Linked DNA regions of Homo sapiens: all the other regions are linked to region 5. The links are contacts of gene promoters, found by promoter capture Hi-C in blood cells and fetal thymus (Javierre and others, 2016). All regions are on one chromosome and are shown on one strand. Each heading gives the region's core, a stretch centred on a gene start or on the middle of the fragment in contact. The rest is flanking DNA. Distances are from core to core; before and after follow the strand shown.

What was found. The method cuts DNA at HindIII sites, captures the fragments that hold promoters and counts their contacts. A CHiCAGO score of 5 or more calls a contact.
Region 1: a contact is called between a fragment that was not itself captured here and the fragment with the promoter of NKD1-AS1 in region 5, in 1 of 17 cell types (non-activated CD4 T cells). The highest score is 5.6, in non-activated CD4 T cells.
Region 2: a contact is called between a fragment that was not itself captured here and the fragment with the promoter of NKD1-AS1 in region 5, in 1 of 17 cell types (neutrophils). The highest score is 5.0, in neutrophils.
Region 3: a contact is called between a fragment that was not itself captured here and the fragment with the promoter of NKD1-AS1 in region 5, in 4 of 17 cell types (non-activated CD4 T cells, activated CD4 T cells, neutrophils and 1 more). The highest score is 9.0, in non-activated CD4 T cells.
Region 4: a contact is called between a fragment that was not itself captured here and the fragment with the promoter of NKD1-AS1 in region 5, in 6 of 17 cell types (naive CD4 T cells, total CD4 T cells, naive CD8 T cells and 3 more). The highest score is 9.5, in naive CD4 T cells.
Region 6: a fragment that was not itself captured here is called in contact with the fragment with the promoter of NKD1-AS1 in region 5 in 4 of 17 cell types (non-activated CD4 T cells, naive CD8 T cells, total CD8 T cells and 1 more); the score reaches 6.4 in non-activated CD4 T cells.
Region 7: a fragment that was not itself captured here is called in contact with the fragment with the promoter of NKD1-AS1 in region 5 in 9 of 17 cell types (non-activated CD4 T cells, naive CD4 T cells, total CD8 T cells and 6 more); the score reaches 13.7 in non-activated CD4 T cells.

What each region holds. Positions count from the first base shown.
Region 1 is chr16:50,768,257-50,771,024 of GRCh38, forward strand. The region is part of intron 5 of CYLD (CYLD lysine 63 deubiquitinase); the gene reads left to right. Among named protein-coding and RNA genes, the nearest start is that of CYLD-AS1, 27 kb to the left of the region's middle. The HindIII fragment of the contact is 2,515 bases long and covers 234-2,748 here.
Region 2 is chr16:50,834,105-50,837,126 of GRCh38, forward strand. No RefSeq gene overlaps it. Among named protein-coding and RNA genes, the nearest start is that of LINC02128, 4.4 kb to the right of the region's middle. RefSeq lists an enhancer at 1,677-3,022. The HindIII fragment of the contact is 1,380 bases long and covers 702-2,081 here.
Region 3 is chr16:50,811,204-50,813,908 of GRCh38, forward strand. No RefSeq gene overlaps it. Among named protein-coding and RNA genes, the nearest start is that of LINC02168, 5.9 kb to the left of the region's middle. The HindIII fragment of the contact is 5,044 bases long and covers 1-2,705 here.
Region 4 is chr16:50,410,454-50,413,354 of GRCh38, forward strand. No RefSeq gene overlaps it. Among named protein-coding and RNA genes, the nearest start is that of LINC02178, 17 kb to the left of the region's middle. The HindIII fragment of the contact is 4,017 bases long and covers 1-2,901 here.
Region 5 is chr16:50,612,369-50,615,076 of GRCh38, forward strand. NKD1-AS1 (NKD1 antisense RNA 1) reads right to left here and starts at 1,282. Exons shown (of 3, transcript XR_007065197.1): 1 at 1,223-1,282. The region is part of intron 4 of NKD1 (NKD inhibitor of Wnt signaling pathway 1); the gene reads left to right. The HindIII fragment of the contact is 2,641 bases long and covers 1-2,288 here.
Region 6 is chr16:50,447,705-50,450,475 of GRCh38, forward strand. No RefSeq gene overlaps it. Among named protein-coding and RNA genes, the nearest start is that of LINC02178, 54 kb to the left of the region's middle. RefSeq lists a silencer at 874-1,168. The HindIII fragment of the contact is 8,671 bases long and covers 1-2,771 here.
Region 7 is chr16:50,373,165-50,376,098 of GRCh38, forward strand. No RefSeq gene overlaps it. Among named protein-coding and RNA genes, the nearest start is that of BRD7, 5.6 kb to the left of the region's middle. RefSeq lists a silencer at 1,574-1,868. The HindIII fragment of the contact is 5,152 bases long and covers 1-2,934 here.

The DNA.
Region 1 (2,768 bases), core at 241-2,740, 160 kb after region 5:
AAAACTAAAGTTGTTTAAATGAAAATTAATTTAGTTTACTTAAATGAGTCTTCATCTGCCTTTCATGTCATCATTAGGACTCTTTTCTTGAGGGGAAAAAAAAGTCAAAGTGTCTCCTTTAGTTCCTTAGTTTCTTTTTCTTGCCCAATTACCTTCATCCGTGAAACAAAATTAATATTTACAGCATTTAAAAAAGAAAAAAGATTCTTTTCAGAGCAGTTGAATGGCTGGGAAGCTTAGGAAAGAATTCTTTCTAGTCAATTGCTTGTAATAGTTGGCTTCTGAAGGATACCTTTGATTGAAAGATGCAGGAATCTTAAACCTGTTATAAAATTGTTTCTCTCTTATATTTCTGTTCTAAATGGTTAAAAACACTGCTAACATATCTAATTTGACATTATGTTCATGTTCTTGAAGTTGTTATGATGAAGCATATCAATTAGCACCACCCCAAAATTATACATTTCGGTTTTTCTAGTTCAACCTGTGTCTTCTGTTCTAGTTGTGGGGGTTGGGAGTATAATGCTGTTTTTTTGACGATCTCTACGATCAAGATAGTGAACATATCCATCACCCCAAAATATGTCCCTTGGGATCCCTCCCTCTGCCTCTTCCTGTCCTCTCAACCCCCTACATTCAGACAACCACTGGTCTTCTTTACATCAGTATACACTTGTTCACATTTTTAAGGATTTTACAAAAGTGGAATAACTCAGAATGCATTCTTTTTTGTCTGGCTTATTTCACTCGACATAATTATTTTTTATTCATCCATGTTGTCCTTTTTATTGTTGATATGGTTATATTAGTTTCTATATCCATTCACTTGTTGATGGACACTTGAGTTTTTTTCAGTTTTTGGCTATTATGAATAATGCTGCTATGAAAATTTGTGTACGAATCTTTGTATGGACATATGCCTTCATTTCACTTGGGTACTTACCTAGATGTGGAATGGCTGGTAATATCATAGGTGACTGTTAACTTAAATAAAACCCCCAAACCTTCCAAGCTGTGTTTCCAAAGTGGTTGCATTATTTTACATTCCCAGAAGCAGTATATGAGAGATACAGTTCTTCCATATCTTTGCCAACACTTGGTATGATCAGTTTTTTAAATTTTAGTAACATCTAATTGTGGTTTTACTCTGCGCTTCATTGGTGACCAGTGATATCAAACATCTTTCCATGTGCATATTTGTCATCTGTATATCTTCTTTGGTTTAGTATCTGTGAAAGTCTTTGGCCGATTATTAATTGTTTCTTTATGATTGGGTTTTGAGAGTTATTTATAAATTTTGAATACAAACCCTTTTGCAGATATATGCTTTACAGCATTTCAGATTATTATAGATTCACATGCAGAGAGAGGGACCCTGTGTGCCCTTTAGCCAATTTTTCCCAGCGGTAACATTAACATGTTGTAAAACAAGACGTGTGCAACATCACAACCAGAATGTTGACCCTGATACAATCAAGAAGCAGAACATTCCCATCCCACAAAGATCTCTTATCTTGCCCTTTTACTGCCGCACAAATTCCCTCTTCCTCCTGCCCCATCCTTAACCTCTGACAACCACTCATCTGCTGTCGATTTCTGTAATTCAGTCATTTCAAGAATGTTACATAAATGGAGTTGTACAGTATGTAACCTTTTGAGACTGGCTCTTTTTTCACTGAGCATAATTCTCTGGAGATTTATCTACATTATTTTATATATATCCATGGATTGTTCCTGTTTATTCCTGAGTAATATTCCATATTATGGATGTATCAGTTTGTTTAACTGTTTAGCTGTTGAAGGACATCTGGTTTGTTTCCAGTTTTTGGCTATTATGAATAATGCTTTTATAAATATTTGTGTGTAGTTTCCTGAGTGCACATAAATCTTTATTTCTTGACATAATTGTCCAAGTGCGTATTCGGTGATATTTGCAAATTTAGTTTCTTAAGAAACCGCTAAACTGTTTTCCAGAGTGACTGTACTCTTACTTTACCACTGGCAATATATGGGTAATCTGGTTTCTCTGTATCCTTTCCAGCATTTGATGTTGTCCCTATTTTTAATTTTAGCCATTCAGAGAGATTTGTAGTTGTATTTCACTGTGATTTTGATTTGAATTTACCTGATGGCTGCTGATGTTGAACATCGTTCCGTGTACTCACTGTCATCTGTATATATTCTTTTTCTTTCTTTCTTTTTTTTTTTTTTGAGATGGAGTCTTGCTCTGTTCACCCAGGCTGGAGTATAGTGGCGTGATCTCGGCTCACTGTAACCTCCACCTCCTGGGTTCAAGTGATTCTCCTGCCTCAGCCTCCCAAGTAGCTGGGATTACAGGTGTGCGCCCCCGAGCCCAGCTAATTTTTGTGTTCTTAGTAGAGAGAGGGTTTCACCATGTTGGCCAGGCTGGTCTCGAACTCCTGACCTCAAGTGATCCACCTGCCTCGGCTTCCCAAAGTGCTGGGATTACAGGCATGAGCCCCTGCACCCAGCCTTCGTATATATTCTTGAGTGAAAGGTGTCCTCATCTCTTTTGCCCAGGTTCTCATTGGATCCTGTGCTTTTTTACTGTTGAGTTTTGAGAAGTCTTTATGTATTCTAGATACTAATTCTTTGTTCAATATATGGTTTGCACATTTTATTTCCCAATGTGTAGCTTGTCTTTTCATCCTCTTAATAGGGTCTTTCACAGAGTACAAGATTTTTATTTTTATGAAGTCCAATTTATAGTTTTTCTTGTGTGGGTCAAGCTTTTGTGTCAAGTTCGA
Region 2 (3,022 bases), core at 142-2,641, 220 kb after region 5:
TCCGCCAATCCTGCCAACCCAGTCCCATCTGCTTTCCATCTTCCAGGAATTGCAGACAAGTTCTTGTTTTTCCACATGTGGTTATAGATTCATTTTGTCTTTTAAATATGGCTTTTCTTTTGAGGAATTGGGGCAGGAGGACAGGTAGCTGGCTAGGCCTGTGTTGTCCTCCTGAGTCTATCATCTTGTGTACTCATTTTTCTTAAGTCAGGAGAGTCTTAGCCATGTTTCCATGGTGATGTGGTGGCCAGTAGGGGAAAAGGGAGGTTGAAGATGCAGAGAAGAGGTGACAATGGCTGCAGCGAAGTCCCTGGGAGAACATGAGGACTTGAAGTTCAGGTGGTGGGCTAGCTTAGGACAGGCAGGACAGGTCAAGAGCAGGCATAGGTGTAGGTGTGTTCCCAGGTTTGGTGGCAGGAAATGAACTGTGCTTCCATTTGTTCCTTCTGTGTTCCCTGTGAGATGGAACTTGAGGTTGTCATAGGCAGAAGGAGAGAGTTGAAGAGTAGAGCCAAGGAGCTCTAGAGAGGGGAGGATGTTTGAGATCACCCCTGTGAAGAGTGTGACAGAGAGCCACTTACGGACACAGAGGCTTCCTGGGTCACCCTGAGGCCACCCCTAGGATCAGATGCCCAGCCCAGAGAGGCTGCCCTGGCCAGTCCGGAAATACTCTTAGAAGAGTGCTGGTTGGGATGTGGAGAAGCTTGACAAGGTTCTGATTAACCTTTTCTACTGGGGATTCTCTTCACAAGGCCCAAGTGGACCAGAACTCAGCGGGCTGGGTTCAAGTCCTCATGGGGCCGCTTAGCAGCTGTGGGATGCTGGGAAGCCATGGCCCTCTCTAAGCCTCTTGTTCTCTCCTTTACTGAGGCAGTGGGGGCATTGACCTCATGGGGCAGCTATGAATAATTTACTGTGAACAACACTGGGACATGGCAGGGGGAGAATGTTGAAAAATTTGGTGGGGGCATTGTTATGAACTGGGCGGGGATACTTACGCCCTTATCATTTATTTTTACGTATCGAAAAACATTACTCGTAAAATCTAGAAAGAGAGTGATTGAGATGGGTAATACCATCACCCTCTGGCTAAGCTATGAAGCTGCCTCTTTTTTCCACCACACTTTGGGGGCCCTTTCCCCCAGTGCCTTGGTGTCCCCTCAATGCCAGCACATCCAATTTCTCTTCCGTCCTCTGCTCACAGATATGGATCTGGTATCAGTCATCTACATCTTAGGGGCAGTTTCTTAGACACTTGGGGGTCTGGAGGGGACACAGAAGCTCTTACTACTGATATTGCAAACCACTCTCCCATCCCCAAGCATCCAGTTTTGACATGGAAACCTCTTGAGGCCAGGTTGTTTTGCAAGGTAAGCCCAGAACACTCAAGCCCAAGCAGAAGACCACGCTCCTTTGAAACTGCATTTCTGCCATTTGGTTGTGGGATTGTTCAGGGGTGGTGTTTGAGATTGGGCGCCTTCTCCCTGCAGGCTCACCAGGCAACCACGGATTCCACTTGCCCCTGAATTAGATGGGTTGCTGGGGGTGCCCAGGCTTATCCCTGTGTGCCCACCTTGACAGGTAAGCTGTGACAGGGCCTCTCTGCTTTGGGCATAACTAACTTTATCCATAGAAGTTCTCAAGCATTGCTGGCTGTATCTGTACCTCACTCCTAGAAAGCAGGAGCTGCTCAAATACAAGTTGGTGTAATCACAGGGAAAGCCGAGCTTTGGCCGGCACGATCTGAAGTTTCTGCTGCCTGGGCCGTCAGCTCAGAGCCGGTGCTGTTTGTCAGCACCAAGCTCAACCACTGAGTGGGACTTTCTGGAGCATCCCAAGAGAAAAGTGAGACTTCAGTAGAGGACACAGAAACCTGTGCCCAGTGGGGGCAATCGGGAAACTTCAATGTGTGACTCGTTCTTTTCCAAAATTCCTCTTTTCCCCTTATTTAATTTTTTTTTCAGAAAAACGTGTGATTTTATATGCTTTTCTCTGCATGTATTAAACAAATTGCACAGCTGAATAGCTTTTCTTAAAACCTGGACATTCACCAAAAAGAAGTTTGCCAGCACAGACAATTAAGCTTTCTTCTTTGAACAATGGAGTGACTGACTGGCACATTTGAAATGCAAGCGTGTTTTTTTATTCCACTGTTCATCCTTCAAGCTGATAAACAGCAACAATGGGAAACAGCTGGGACAGGAAAACATTTGAGTTTGTATTTTCAAAGCAAGCAAGAAAGAAACCCGTCAGTGTGGGCCAGATCCCGTCTTCCGCCTGAGGGCGAGCCGGCATTTGGGGAGGGAAAAAAATACTATACATATTTCTAATCAAACATTACATATTTATTAATGTGCAGCTGGTGCATTGTATTCCGAGGGTTGGTGGTGGGAGTGTCTCTCCCCCCACCCCCACGCCACCCGCCTTGTTCCTCTAATGTGTCTTGCCTGGCAGGCTGGTATTGTTCTGTAACTGACATTACTTTATAAGAATCAGAGCTGCGCACATTTAATAGGAGTTATGGAGACAATTGCTCTCTGAGCGGTTGGGGTCTCTGTGACGTAGGTGCCATCTGAGCCTCAGTTTCTGTTCTGGGAGTGGACAGAATGGGCAATGGAGGTATTTTTAGGCAGATGTACCTGAGATACTGTTGATGGGGAAGCCCCCAGCACCTTCACTGCCACCCCTACACCACAGCCTGGGTCCCATCCATGAAGGCCATGGCTCCTGCCCACATGTCTGTGCTCTCTCTAAACGTGGGAACAAATTTATTTTGATGCTTATTGAGATTAAACTTGCTGCGCATTTCATCGGGAACAGGGGTTGGATCTGTTCATTAGGTGGGGAGGCTCACCTTGTCAATTTCCATTGAGCACTGGCAAAAGCGACCACTTTATCATCATTTGTCAGCAGCCTCGACAGGTTTTACTCAGCTCTGATTCCTCCTGGGCCCTGCTGTCATAACTTCATTGGCTTTATGGTAGCAGCTGAGTTCCCTTAGGTAATTGTCTAATAGATCTAT
Region 3 (2,705 bases), core at 184-2,683, 200 kb after region 5:
ACAATCGTTTATTTATGGTTCTCATACTGATGGAAAGGGGCATTGCTGACAGTTTGGGGCTACTACACATGACCCTACTGTGATCCTTCTTGAATTGGTGGATTTTAGCTTTAGGAGAGACAGCTGCAGACTTTTCCAAAGTTTACACTCCTTCCTTCTTTCATTATTATTTTTTAACCAACTCCACTGAGGTGTAATTTACATACAGTAACATACACATATTTTAAGTAAGCAGTTAGATGAGTTTTGACACATTCATGAATTTATTTTTTATGAGACCAGGATCTCACTATGTTGCCCAAGCTAGTCTCGAACTCCTGGGCTCAAGCGATCCTCCTGCCTCAGCCTCCCAAGTATCTGGGACTACAGGCATGCACCACCATGCCCAGCCAATTTTAAAAATTTTTCGTAGAGAAGGTGATCTTGTTATGTTGCCCAGGCTGGTCTTGAATTCCTGACCTCAAGTGATCCTCCTGCCTGGGCATCCGGAAGCTCTATTACAGGCATGAGCCACCACTCTGGGATCTGACAAACTTTCTGTAGTGTTGAAGTTCAGTGACTTGGAGTAGTCACCTCCAGCTCAAGGTGCATGTGCCTGTGTGTTTTCTCCTTTTTTTGATAAAACCCAGGCTCAGCACAGGGTCGAGAAAAAGACTGAAAGTCAGCCCAGAAAGCAGTGTAGAAAGTAGAAAGCTAGTCTGGACTACCATTAGCATCAAGGACCTCAGTCACTGGAGCCATTGAGATGGGTCCACCCCTTCTCCCTCTCTTTCTCTCTCTCTCTTTTTCTTTCTTTAATTCATTAGCAAGAGGGTCTGTCTCACTATGTTGCCCAGGCTGGAAAACCTGGGCTCAAGCAACCCTCCCATCTCAGCCTCCCAGTCCCAGCTCAATCTTTCTTTTTAAAGTTGGAGAATTTTCTAAAGTTCTCCAACTTTAAAGGCTGCTGCCTAGGGAGGCAGGGCTGCACCCACGGGCAGAGTTAGAGGCAGAGCTGGAACAGAACCCCAGCATGGGAAGTCCGTGTTCACGGGGGGCCATTTCACCCTGGGACATTGTAGGGCAGCTCGAGGCTCTGACTAGGGAGGCCCAGCGCCTGGGGCTGGCGCTTGGTCCGAGCTCTGCAGGCTTTCCTGGGTGGAGAGGAGCCTCTTCCTGCCATGCACACCAGGCCTTCCTTAAGTGACTCAAACACCAATCTTCCTTGGGCTTCCTGAACTGTGAGGATTCCACAGTCTGGCAGGGCTGGTGGCCTCAGCCGTACACTCTGCAGCCAAGAGGGCTCTAGCTCCTGATTCCACCCTGTCCCTCAGCGGCTCCCCAGTGCTCTTCCAGGCCTTAGGCCTGCACCATCCCCACCTCTCCCTCCTCACCAACCTGCCACCTCCTGCCTCAGGTGGACACACTCAGGAGGAAGTCAAGCCTGTCCCTATACAAAAGCCATATTCCCAGGCACTTGCCTGAGTAGAGACGAAGTCTCAGCTCCTTCTACGTGAGCCCGAGGTGCCCACGGTCCCCACACCCCCTCCAGGAGTCCTTGCATTTGCGCAATGCTTTATACTCATCTGTCAGCTCGGCAGTGGGTCCCCCAGAGGGTGAAAACCACATTGTCCCTGTCTCATCAGCAACCAGAACAGGGGGCACCAACTGTGGCCTCCTCCCATATTTGTCGGGAGACTGAATGATTCTCAGGAAGCTGCGCGGCCACCGGCCATTTCACATGGGCATTTCCAAGCTGGGTGCTTTTTGCACCATGCTATTTTGGGCGGGAAGACTTTTCCAGTCCCTTTCTCCTTGGCATGCCACAGAAGAATTTCCTTCACCCACATCTGGATCATCTAGAATTACCCAGTTCAGCCTGTTGCTTTCAATGGCAAACGTCCAGTGCATGGTGTTGGCTCATTTTCATCCCCACTGTCTAGGAGCCCTTGAGCCTTGAGCTTTGGTTCACTATGGGCAGTCTCTTCCCTCCAGGCCTTGGCTAGAGCCAGGCAGGGACAGTGCCCACTCAGGGGCCGATCCACCTCGCTGGGGGCCACCAGTTCGAGCTGGGTGCTCTGTGAAACCAGTCATACCCAAGCTACTGGACTCTGGTCACTCCATGATCCTTGGCAAGATGTCTGTCTATGAACCGCAGTCCCTCTATCTGTAAAATGAAGGATCCTAGACTGGGACTCTCAAGCTCACTTGCCTACAGGGGCCAGGCAGGTACCTTAGGGAAGGGAGAAGGTTGGAGTGTTGGTGGAGAGCTGATATGGTAAAGGAAAGGAAGAAGCAGGCCAGTATATTCTGATTTTTTTTTTTTTTTTTGAGACGGAGTCTCGCTCTGCTGCCCAGGCTGGAGTGCAGTGGTGCGATCTCAGCTCACTGCAACCTCCACCTCCCGGGGTCAAGCAGTTCTCTGCCTCAGCCTCCTGCGTAGCAGTGAGTGCCACCATGCCTGGCTAATTTTTTTGTATTTTTAATAGAGACAGGGTTTCGCCATCTTAGCCAGGCTTGTCTTGAACTCCCGACCTCGTGATCCACCCGCCTCGGCCTCCCAAAGTGCTGGGATTACAGGCGTAAGCCACCGCACCTGGCCTATGTTCTGATTTTTCAGACGAAGTCAGAAATTTCTAAGAGAAGCAAAAGTTCCTGATCTGTACAAATCTGGCAACTTTTCTTTTTTTTAACTCTGTATGTGCCAGACGCGTTTAAGCCAGAGC
Region 4 (2,901 bases), core at 218-2,717, 200 kb before region 5:
TTTTCCTATTCTATTCTATTTTTCAGTATATTTCAAGCATGTCTTCAAAACCTTAAAAATAGAAGTATTCCAGTACATACGAAAACCTTTAAATTTCTAAATAGTCTGGTCATACATAGCAAATATATGGGGCTGGTGACTGATTTGGGAAAAAACAGGCTATGCTATAAAATGCTGAGTTTATGGCCCCCACAGCGACAGTAACCTGAGGGAGGTGTGGGTGGTGGAGTCTGGGTGTGGTGGGCCATGGCTTTGCCACAGCTCATGAGACTCTCCATGCTGGTGGCCGGCAGCTCCTATGGGAGCCATTGCCGAGGTTTATGGTTGGGTTTACGAAATCCATTCAATACTTTGGCACTTGCACAAAAAATACATGTGTAAAGGTGAGTGTGCCCTTGGAAAATCTTTTTTTTTTTTTTTTTTTTAAACAAACCAACAAACAAGGCCACCAGGCCTATAAAATCCAGGTGAAGTCTACACATCGTGTCTCACCTCTCCCCTAGCCTCCTGATTTTACTGTCACTTCCCCTGAGGTTGAGGCCAACCATGGCTTGCCCTTAGATTCAGAAGCTGTGATCCTTGACCTTGACTGCTAAGAAAGGCATGTGCGACCTGGAACAAATTACTTGCCTCCTGGTACATTGGATTTCTCATCAGAAAACTGAGATGACAAAATCTCTCTTCAAGGTTTTGGGTTTTAGGTGAAATTCACATAACATAAGTTAACCATTTTAAAGCAAACAATTCAGTAGCACTTAGAACATTCACAAGGTTGTGCAATCATCACCACCCTCCATCTGTGGAATCTTTGCATCTTCCCAAACGGAAACTCTGTATCCATTAAACAATGACTCCCTATTTCCCTCTCAGTCTAGCCCCTGAAAAACCATCTTTCTACTTTCCATTTCTATGGAATTACTTACCCTGGCTATTTCCTATAAATGGAATAATATAATATATGATCTTTTTTGTGTTTGGCTTCTGTCTCTTAACATAATGCTTTCAAGGTTCACCTATGTTGTAGCATGTGTGAGTTCTTAGCTCCTTGTTATGGCTGAACAACATTACTTGTATAATACCACAATTTGCTTATCCATTTGCTTGTTAATGGACATTTGGGTTGTTTCCACCCCTTGACTATTGTGAATAGCAGTGCTATGAACATGCATATATAAGTACTTTTTTGAATCCTTGATTTCAATGTTGGGTGTGTATCTAAGAACGTAATAGATGTCATATAGTAATTCTATGTTTAACTTTTTGAAGAGCTGCCAAACTATTTTCCACAGTAACCAAAACATTTCACATTCCTGCCAGCAAAATTTGAGGGTTTCATATTCTCTACATCTTCACCAATACTTGTTATTTTCTATTTTTTTGAATGTAGCCATCCTAGTGGGTGTGAAGTGGTATCTCATTGTGGTTTTGACTTCCACTGCCCTAAAAATTAATGATGTTGAACATCCTTTCATGTGATTATTGGCCATTTGAATATCTTTTTTTTTTTTTTTTTGAGACAGAGTCTCTCTTTGTCACCCAGGCTGGAGTGCAGTGCCACAATCTCAGCTCACTGCAACCTCTGCCTCCCGGGTTCAAGCAATTCTTCTGCCTCAGCCTCCCAAGTAGCTGGAACTACAGGTGTGTACCACCATGCCTGGCTAATTTTTGTAAGTGCTGGGATTATATGCTTGAGCCACCACACCCAGATTCATTTGCATATCTTCTTTGAAGAAATGTCTATTCAAGTTCTTTGCCCTTTTTTTGAATTAGGTTGTTTGTTTTCTTGTGTGTTGAGTTCTAGGCATTCTTTATATATTCTAGATACTAATCCCTTATCAGATATATGATTTGCAAGAATTTCCTTCAATTTTGTGTGTTACCTTTTTACTCTCTCACTCTTTTTTTTCTTTTTGAGACAGGGTCTTGTTCTGTCACTCAGGCTAGAGTACAATGGCGTGATCATGGCTCACTGCAGCCTCGACCTCCTGGGCTCAAGAGATCCTCCTGCCTCAGCCTCCTGAGTAGTTGGGACTGTAGGCATGTGCCACCACACCCAGCTAATTTTTTTTTTTTTTAGAGATGGGGTCTCACTATGTTGCCCAGGCTGGTCTTGAATTCTTGGGCTCAAGTAGTCCTTCTACCTCAGCCTCCCAAACTGTTTGAGATTACAGGCGTGAGCCACCACACCTGGCACACTCTCTTGATAGTGTCTTTTGGTGCACAAAAGTTTTAAAAGTTGACAAAGTTCAATGTATGTATTTTTGTTGTTGTTTCCTTTACTTTTGGTGTCTTTTCTAAGACTCTATTGGCAAATACAAGGTCATGAGTATTTATCCCCATGTTTACCATGGGGATTACAATTAACATCCTAAATATATAAAAACTTAGTTGGAATTAATTCCTACTTAGTTTCAATAGCATACAAAAACTCTGTTCCTATGTACCTCAGTCCATTCCCTTTTAAAGTCATAAATTACATCTTTATACACTGTTTGCCTATTAATATAGAATTTTAATTGTTGTTTTAGGCATTTGTCTTATAAATAAGTTAGAAAACAAAAAGTGGAGTTAGAAACCAAAAATATAATTACACTGGCTTTTATATTTATCTATGTAATTATTTTTACCAGAATTCCCAATTTCTTCATATGAATTTGAGTTACTGTCTAGTGTCTTTTCAGCCAGAAAGGCTCCCTTTAGCATTTCTTTTAGGCCAAGTCTAGTAGTGACAAACTCTCTCAGCTTTTTTAAAATCTGGGAATGTTTTAATTTCTCCTTTTAAATTGCTTTTGTTTGATTGACTTTGTTTATTTTGATTGTGGTAAAATATAGGTAACAAAATTTACTGTTATGGCCGGCTGCAGTGGCTCACACCTGTAATCCCAGGACTTTGGGAGGCTG
Region 5 (2,708 bases), core at 32-2,531:
AGCAGACTGAGAACAGAATCTGGCCCCTCACTCCTCACCATTCAGTATGTGCTGGGCATTTGCTGCAGCTAGGGGCTCTGCTGGGCCCTGGGTTCACAGGCACGAGCAAGGTAGGCAGGCCCAGCAGTCACGACATTCACAGGAGGGAGGCAGGGATGAATACATAAATCTGCGAAGGAGCATGGAAGTTTCTAGTAGTGGTTCTCTGCTAAGACGTAAAACCCAGGGAGAGGTAGAGTGAGGAGGCTTTTCTGAGAAGGTGATGTTTCAGCTGAGATGCAGATGCCAGGAAGGAGCCAGCCATGGAAGAATGTAGGGGGAGAGCAGCTATGAGTGAGCAGAACCCCAGAGTGGAGGGAACTTGGTGTTTGGGGAAGAACAAAAAGGAGGCCGATGTGGCATCAGGAATGAGAGTGGGGTGGTCGGCAAGTGTGGGACCACGCCCTTAGGTTGCGTGGTTCTGCCCAGATGGTTGGGTGGGTGACTGCTGGATTCTGACCTCTGTTTTAAGAAGTTAATTCTGGCTTCTGGGAGGGACTGCCCATGGGCAGGGAGGAAGAGGGCAATGAAACCAGGAGGTGACTGCAGGGTCGCAGGCGAGAGGAGATGGTGCTGGCCTAGCCTGGGAGCTTGGGGCTGGGGAGAGGTCCATGGGGCTGGAGGTTGGAGCTGGTGAGAAGGGGGTTGAGGGAACGAGAGAGATCAGGGATGCATCTTAGACTTTTGGTTTCAGGAACTAAGGATTTGGCGGTGTCACTTCTGAGGTGGAGGTTTTGGCGGGTGACCATCAAGCCTCCCGTTTTTGGACCAGTTGGGTTCAAGATGCCCATTTAACATCCAAGGAGAGGTACCGAGGAGGCCGTGGGATACCTGGTGATTGGAGCTTGGGGTTCAAGGAGCAGTTGGGCAAGAAACAGAGAGAGAGAGCGAGTCAAGACTTCTCAGGAAGTAGCCACGGACATTGCCCGGGACTCTCGGGCAAGGCTCCTCAATACACAGGGCTGGCGGTGGCTTCCCAGGAAGGCTGGGAGGAAGAGGAGTTCATGGGAAGGCAGCAGGGACCCCCAGATGGAGGGGCAGGTGCCCATGCCCCGCCGGCTCCTCTCCCTCAGTTCAGAGCCTGTCCTGTCGGGGGGTGTCAGCGGCCCTGACTCTCCACTCCCCTACAGTCCCCCCAGAAGCTGAGTTGCAGCGGTGACAGAGAACAAGCGGACTTTGTTACCTTGGCAGTTTCTCTCAAGTCTGCTCCTCATAAAAGCTCAGCTGGAACAGTGGAAATTCTGACTTGTGTCAGATACCGGAGAGGCTTTAATAGTTTCAAGTAGCTCGGGGTTAGATTGTAAAAGCCGAATTTCATCACATGTTTTAACTTGGGTGGGGGCGGGCGGGGGAGAGTGGAAGGGACGTGATATTTTTAGCCCACAGAAGGCTTTTTCTCCCCTTTCCCCTTCTCTCCCGGGGCTTCCCCCTCCCTCCCTGAACAGATGTTTCGTCTCAATCCTGTTCAGATGTCAAAGCCGAGTGGCCACCAGCCTTATGCTCTGATGAGGAAAAAAAGGCCAGAATGTTATTTGTTGAGAAGGATTTCCTCCCCTACCCGCTTTTCCCCCTTTTTTGTTTCCCCTCAGTTACAATTGGTCCATAAGCAAAATCTAGTGGCAGTAAAATGCAGCTGGGAGGCAGGATGGTGGAGAAGAAGTCCCTGGTGGCATTTCTGGTCTCAGGAAGGGGCAGACACCCACAGGTGAAAAAGCTGGAAATCACCCTAGAGGGACTGCCCTGGGTGAGTGAATTACTGCTGTGGTGCTGGTGCTGGTGGTTTTTCCTAAAAAGCAGGATCTCAGAGAGACGGATTTGTTAAGTCAGGATTCTTTCGGTTCTTTTGGAAACTCACTTAAACTTTTGGCTCATGAAATTGAAAAATCCTAGGGTAGATCTTGCCTAAAAAGGCCTGTTTGGATTCTGGAGCTAAAACCATGTCATGGACACATGCACGCACACACACACACTCACACACACACGTATACTCACACATTCACACACATGTCTCGCTCGCTGCCCCTCTCTCTCCCTCTCCATCATCTCTCCCTCTGTCCCCTGGTGGCTTCTCCCCCACAGGGGGCAAGGGTGGCAGTTCCCAGCTCTGGGCACTCCCATCCTATGAGCACAGCCCTGTCAGGTGGAAGAAAGTTCCCAGGTCACAGGGGTTCTTGCACATGTTGGACTCACTTTATTGACCACTTTACTGGTCACTTGACCAGGGTAGATCTAGGTTTTATGGGACCTGAAGCTTTCTGGGGCCAAACCAAAATAAATATCTCACCAACTCAGTCTCTCCTTAGCTCATGTCCAGAAATGCCTGTATTTCCCCTAGTATCACCTCACACAGGCAAAGGATGTCAGAATGGTTAGATGACAATCTTAATAGATTGAGGATAAAATGCCTAATTTGGAAAATGTTACAAATACAAACACATATGACCACATAAACACCTTGCAAAGACCCATCCTGACTTGGAAAGGGCCCGTGTAGGTGAGAGGGCCCAGAAGCCTAGCTTCATTAGCTTCTTCATAAACTCTTCTTTCATACTGACCTAGGACCAGCCACGTGGCCTTCAGGATGAAACAAGCTGGGTCAGGTAGGGGTACTGAGTGCAGTGTGACCCTGGAGTGGGATCAGTCTCCATAAACTAGATAGACTGAGAGTG
Region 6 (2,771 bases), core at 262-2,761, 160 kb before region 5:
GCTGAGAAGCCAAGCAGAGAAAGGTAAAACAGCCCAGAGGTTAGCAACTGTGGGAAATTGCTACTACCAGGAGGCTGGAAGGAGAGAGAGGAGGTGGAGTTGTGAGAGCTTGAGAGCTAGGGCTGTGCAGCAGGAGGCTGAATTTGAAGGTTGGTGGGGGCTCTCTGCTGGGAGCTGAGAGCTGACACAGTGGTGTTGGGGACACCACAGGAAACACAGTGAGGGGAGAAACACTTTAGCTTTTCTCTCCCCTCGCTCTCCACAGTGCTGCCCATTGGCCAAACCAACCCAGAAACCAGGTGGCCAAGAAGTCCAGGGAACGTCACTCCTGGATACAGAGCAGAGCGTAAGGGCAGAGATAAGACCCGATATCAAACGGGCAGGTGACTGGCACAGGAAATTCACATCACTAAGGAGGATCCAGCACTAAGGGTGGTAACAGCAATCACTGATTAATGGCATCACTCGGGGCTTTCCCTGCAGTGGTGCCCTTGCACCCGGGAGAACTCGCTTACCGGTGAGGAAGTGAAGGCACAGTGCTGTCTGCATGGTCACTTAGCGGGGAGGGGAGAAGCGGCTGTCACCCTGCCTCCTGCTCTGGACTCCGCTGTCCCTTTCAGGCTGCAGATGCCCTCCAAGGCTGGTCTCCACTGGTCCTTAGGAGCATAGGCTCTGGGTTGAGTGATGCCTCCCTCTGACAGCACCGCACATGGAGTGTGGAGTTCTCAATAAAGGGTAGTTATTAACACGTCCATGGCCCCATCTTACGGCTGAGAAAATTGAGGTGCCAGCAGTTATGGGACACCCCCTCGCCCCCGCCAGGTTTCCTAGCTAGCTGGTGGCAGTGCTGGGAGCTTGAATCCATCACTTCTGGCTCCAAAGCGATTACTCTTAACTTCTGGGGCCCCTGCCCAAGCCAGGATACACCCTGGCACTCCTTCTTGTGGCCACTGTTGGGATCCACACCCAGGCCCCTCTCTGGCTCATTAACTCTGCCAGGACGGCTGGGCTGCCTGGGCTCAGGCGTGACCCACACGCCCAATTAGAGGGATTCAAAACGCCATTTACTTATCAATGACCTAAGCTCATTTGATTATGAAGGATGGAGCCCAAACTGTTCTCTGAAGCCACTGTCGTCCCTCAGCTGTGCCAAATCCTCCCTTGATCTGCTAATCCTGAGTTTATAAGGTTAGGAGATAAGCAGGCGGAACGCAATTCTTTTCTTTTTTGGTCCACCTAAGTGGCCATGAAACCCCTAACCATCATAGACCTCTCGGGCCCCTGTGGCCTCCCTGTCTGAATAATTCAGACGGTGTGTGAAGGAAGCCCCCACAGTCCTGGTACGCACAGGCCATCTGGGGCAGGCACTCCCCACCGATCAGCCTGGCTCTTCCTTCTCCTGCTCTTCCTTTTTTTCCCTCCTCTTTCTTGTACTGGCCTTTTTATGCTCACCTCAGGCTTGGGAAAGCCAGGCAGCCAGCCCAGCCGGTGACCCCGCCGAACCGTGGGGACCTGCTCCTCCTTGCGCCCCCTTTTGTCCCAGGCACAAATAGATCCCTCCGCCTCAAGCCCCATTGCGTGATATTCACCATGAAGAGGTGATAGACCCTGTCCCTAAGACATTTCCATTCTAGTGGGGGACAAGACTTCAGCCACTTGAGCCCAAACCATACTTAGGGTGTTCCTGTGGAGAAAGACCCCAGGTGTTTACAACACAATGCTCGCTGAAAGAGCTGAGAGACTCCTCAGCCGGACAATGGGGGTGTCAATCCCAGCTTTCACCAGCTGTGTGACATTAGGCAACCAGTTAGCCTCTCTGAACCTCTGTTTCTTCATTAATAAAATGGGGATAATGAAGGTACCTGTCATCACTAATTTAATTCTCACAATAAGAAGCAAATGGGGACACCTACAGCCTGGTACAGAATAAACCCTTAATAAAGGACATTGGTGATGACTTTTGTTCTCTATAACTACGAGGACAGCTTATACCACACAGCATTTCCCACACGCCCATTCTGCAGTGGATCTGTGGCTGCTGTCTGTCCTCACAGATCTCAGACACGAATTGGGAGGACCCTACCATGTTTCTCATGCCAATGATGGGAGAGAGATCCCGGGAAAAGGGATTGAGATCCATATGGTGGGTGGTCTCAGGGAGACATTGCCACGTGCTCTTGCAAACAGCTCTGGCTGTCACTCAAGCTACAGACTGACGAGGGCTACAGGGGAGAGCTCAGCAGGTCAGAAGAGGCCCGGGCCACTTTGAAGAGAAACAGTCTCATGGTTCAGCCCGAGCCTGACAGGTTGGAGAGCTGGGCCTGGAAGGCAGGTGGCCTGACCTATTTAACATGGAATTCATGCTTTAGATGCAAGAGGCTTTCAAGGGTAAAAGCTGGACCCAGGGGAGAAGAGAGAGGCTGAAGCAACATGGCCTGCTTGCCTTCCGCTGGGGGGTGGCAGAGAGGGGGTGAGGACAGGAGCACTGCTTTGGAGTCTGGAGGCTGCTTCTATCCTCATTCTACTTCCTACCAGCTCTCAGTCCTTGGCCGATTTGCCTCACCTGGATGAGCCCCCCTTGGCCTGGCGCCTGCCTCTCTGTTTTTCAACTTTGAGTTCCTTTGAGCTGAGATAGGTTTATTCATCTCCGTATAACCCACATGTCAGTAGAGATCACCCCATTTTTAAGAGGTTCATGAAATAGACATAAACTCTGTGTTCACATCTTGGGGTACAGGTGACTAGTGACCAAGCCAACCTGAGATTTCTGC
Region 7 (2,934 bases), core at 100-2,599, 240 kb before region 5:
CTCTGTGGGGAATCAGTGGCCTGGGGTGATTCGCTATGACAGGTTGTTGACAGTGCAGCTTCCAGGGTTGCTCACGGTCACTGGCGGAGCAGCCCCAGCTGCTGCCTCTGAGTGAGGAAAAGAGAGAGGCGGTGGATGGCCGCCATCCACGCAGGCATGCCACATGGCCTCTGCCCACACGGTCTCAGAGCTGCTTACTGGAGGGCAGCGAGCCCAAGCCATGACACTCACGGCTGCCAACCCCAAAAGTCATTTAGCCTCAGAGCCCTTGATCAAATAAGACAGAGGCAACATCAGGACCTTCCTTCCTTCTTTCAGTTCATATTTTCTGTGTGCCTACTATGTGCTGGGGGGTGCTAGGAACACGGTGGGAGTAAAATAGACACAGCCCTGCCCTTATGGAGAGCACAGTGAGATGCATGTTAGACAGAGAACACAGACAAATATTTAATCATGGCCATGCTAACGGTTAGAAAGGAAAACAGCAAGCTGCTGTCCAGATAGTGCTCTGACCCAGGCTGAGGGCTCATCCAGGCCTAACCTGGAGGATAAGTCTTGGTTAGGTGCCCTACAAGTGGAACCTGAGGCGTGGATCTGTTGGGGTGGCAATTGGGGAGAAGCTGGGAGAGAAGCAGGACGGGGTGGGTAGAAGCAGAGAAAGAGGTGGTCCCAGCCTCAGCCCCGTGCCACAGTGGTGGCGGGGCGAGGGGGGATTGGGAACATCAACTGTCCAGGGAACAGTCCCACCCTGTGGGAGGTGGCTGGCCTTTTGTAGCCCATGGTGGGCAGCGAGGTCTGCCTGATTGTCGCCTATTACAGAGGTGACTCTAGTTTGTCCCAGGGCAATTCTCTGAGGGAGGTGTGCGGCTGCCTTCCGTGAGTGGCCAACACTCCCAGCTGCTGGTGATGCCCCTCCAGCAGGATGTGCCTTCAGGAGAGGTGAGCCAAGGGGGCATCAGCTGCATCTACTAAACAGGCAGAGAGGTCAGCATGTGCAAAGGCGAGGGAAAGTTGGGTGCAGTCAGGGAGGAGAGGAGAGCAGGTTTGGAGCAAGAGAGATGATGGGGACTGTGTCTGGAAGAAAGGCTGGGCTGGGCAGAGCTTTTCAAGGCATGGCAGAGATGCTTGATTTTATTTGGGATGCCCATGAAGGCAGTGGACGTGGGTGCATGGCCATATTGGCAATTTAACAAGAGCGCTTTGGCTTCTGAATGAAGGAAGAATTGGAGTGGGTTAGGAGACCGGGCAGAGAGACCAGCTTAGAAGTGATGTGGTCTTCAAAGGGGAGATGGGGGTGGCTTGGTCTAGCGTGGATGATGTGGGGATGGTGCAATGGGATAATTCAAGAGTTATGTAGGAGGAAGAACTTAGGAGGGGTTAGGGATGCCTATGCAGAACCCAAGAGGAGAATCCAAGTAGGAAGGTGAATGCATGTGTCTGGGGCTTGGAAGGGAGGTGAGACCTGAAAATAGATTTTTGGCATAGAGATGTCTTTGGAACCTCAGGAGTGAATGAGACCACCCAGGAGGAGAGAGTAGAGTGATCAGAGAAGATGGAGCCTTGAAGAGCTTCAATATTATCTAACAGGTGAATAAAGGATGAGGAAGCAGCAGAGGAGACTGAGGAGGGGGAGGGAGGCAGGAGGAGAAGCAGGAGAGTAGGACACCCAGCAGGGGAGGACAGAGCACTGGAGCCAGGTGAGGGCAGTGGCGGGCTGAGAGTGTGTAGAGGAAGGAAAGCTCGGCCAGGCTGCAGGGAGCCTCTAAGCACTGGAAGGGCTGGGGGAGGGTGGATCAGACAAGTAGACTTGTGCATGCAAGGCCACTGAGGTGATGCTGGAGAGTGGGAGGTGTGATGAGACAGAGATACAGAAGGGAACACTGAGGCCTTGAATGACAGGCTGTGGGGTGTGGACTTCCCCCTGTAAAGTGGGATAAACCAGATGAAATGGTCACCTTGGAGAAAGCTGGGCATTTTCCAGGAGCCCCAGGCTGGGGACAGACCATGAGCAGCTCAGAAATGATCCTGCAGGCCCGGGCTCCCGGTCCATCATGATTCCTTGGAGTACTGCCCTGCGGACGGGGCCCAGGATTAAATTCCCTTCACAGAAAGTCACTATGTGTTTGATAAACTCTTATCAGACTGTGGCTGTGGGCTTGTGCCATGTCACCCAGATCTCTAATTTCATAGTCCTGGCTCTGCCAAAGACTGGCTGTGAAACCTGGACATGTCTCTCCCCTATCTCCATCTAAACAGGGCTGCAGAAAGAGGAGGAGTCAGTCAGATGCGCTGACTCATGCCTGTAATCCCAGCACTTTTGGAGGCTGAGGTGGGAGGATTGCTCAAGACTGGCTTGGGTGACGTAGCGAGACCCCATTTCTATAAAAAATTAAAAATTAGCCAGGTGTAGTGGTGCATGCCTGTGGTCCCAGCTACTCAGGAGGCTGAGGCAGGAGGATCACTTGAGACCAAGAGGTGAAGGCTGCAGTGAACTATGATTGTGCCACTGCATTCCAGCCTGGGCAACACAGTGAGATCCTGTCTCAAAAACAAAAAAAAAGGTAAAAAGATAAAGAAAGAGGACTCGACTGGCTGCTTTCAAGCTGTTGGTTCTAGGGAAGCACTTCTGACGCTCTGTCAGTGTCTGATAAAGACTTTGTTTTTAAAAATATGTGTGTATTTTAGGTTTTTCTTGATTCAGTTATTTAGTTTTAAACCTATTTATTGCCTAAGTAATTAATGTTTGTTATAGACCAATTGAAAATACAAATAGGTGTAAGGAAGATATTTCAAATTGCTCATAATCTCACCACTTTCTGTAATAGTTTGGTATATGTCATTCCAGATATTCTCCAGTGGTGTTTTTTTTTTTTTTATTAGAGTTTGGTGGTGATTCTTTTCTCCCTGCCTCAGGGGATAGATTCATGATACCCC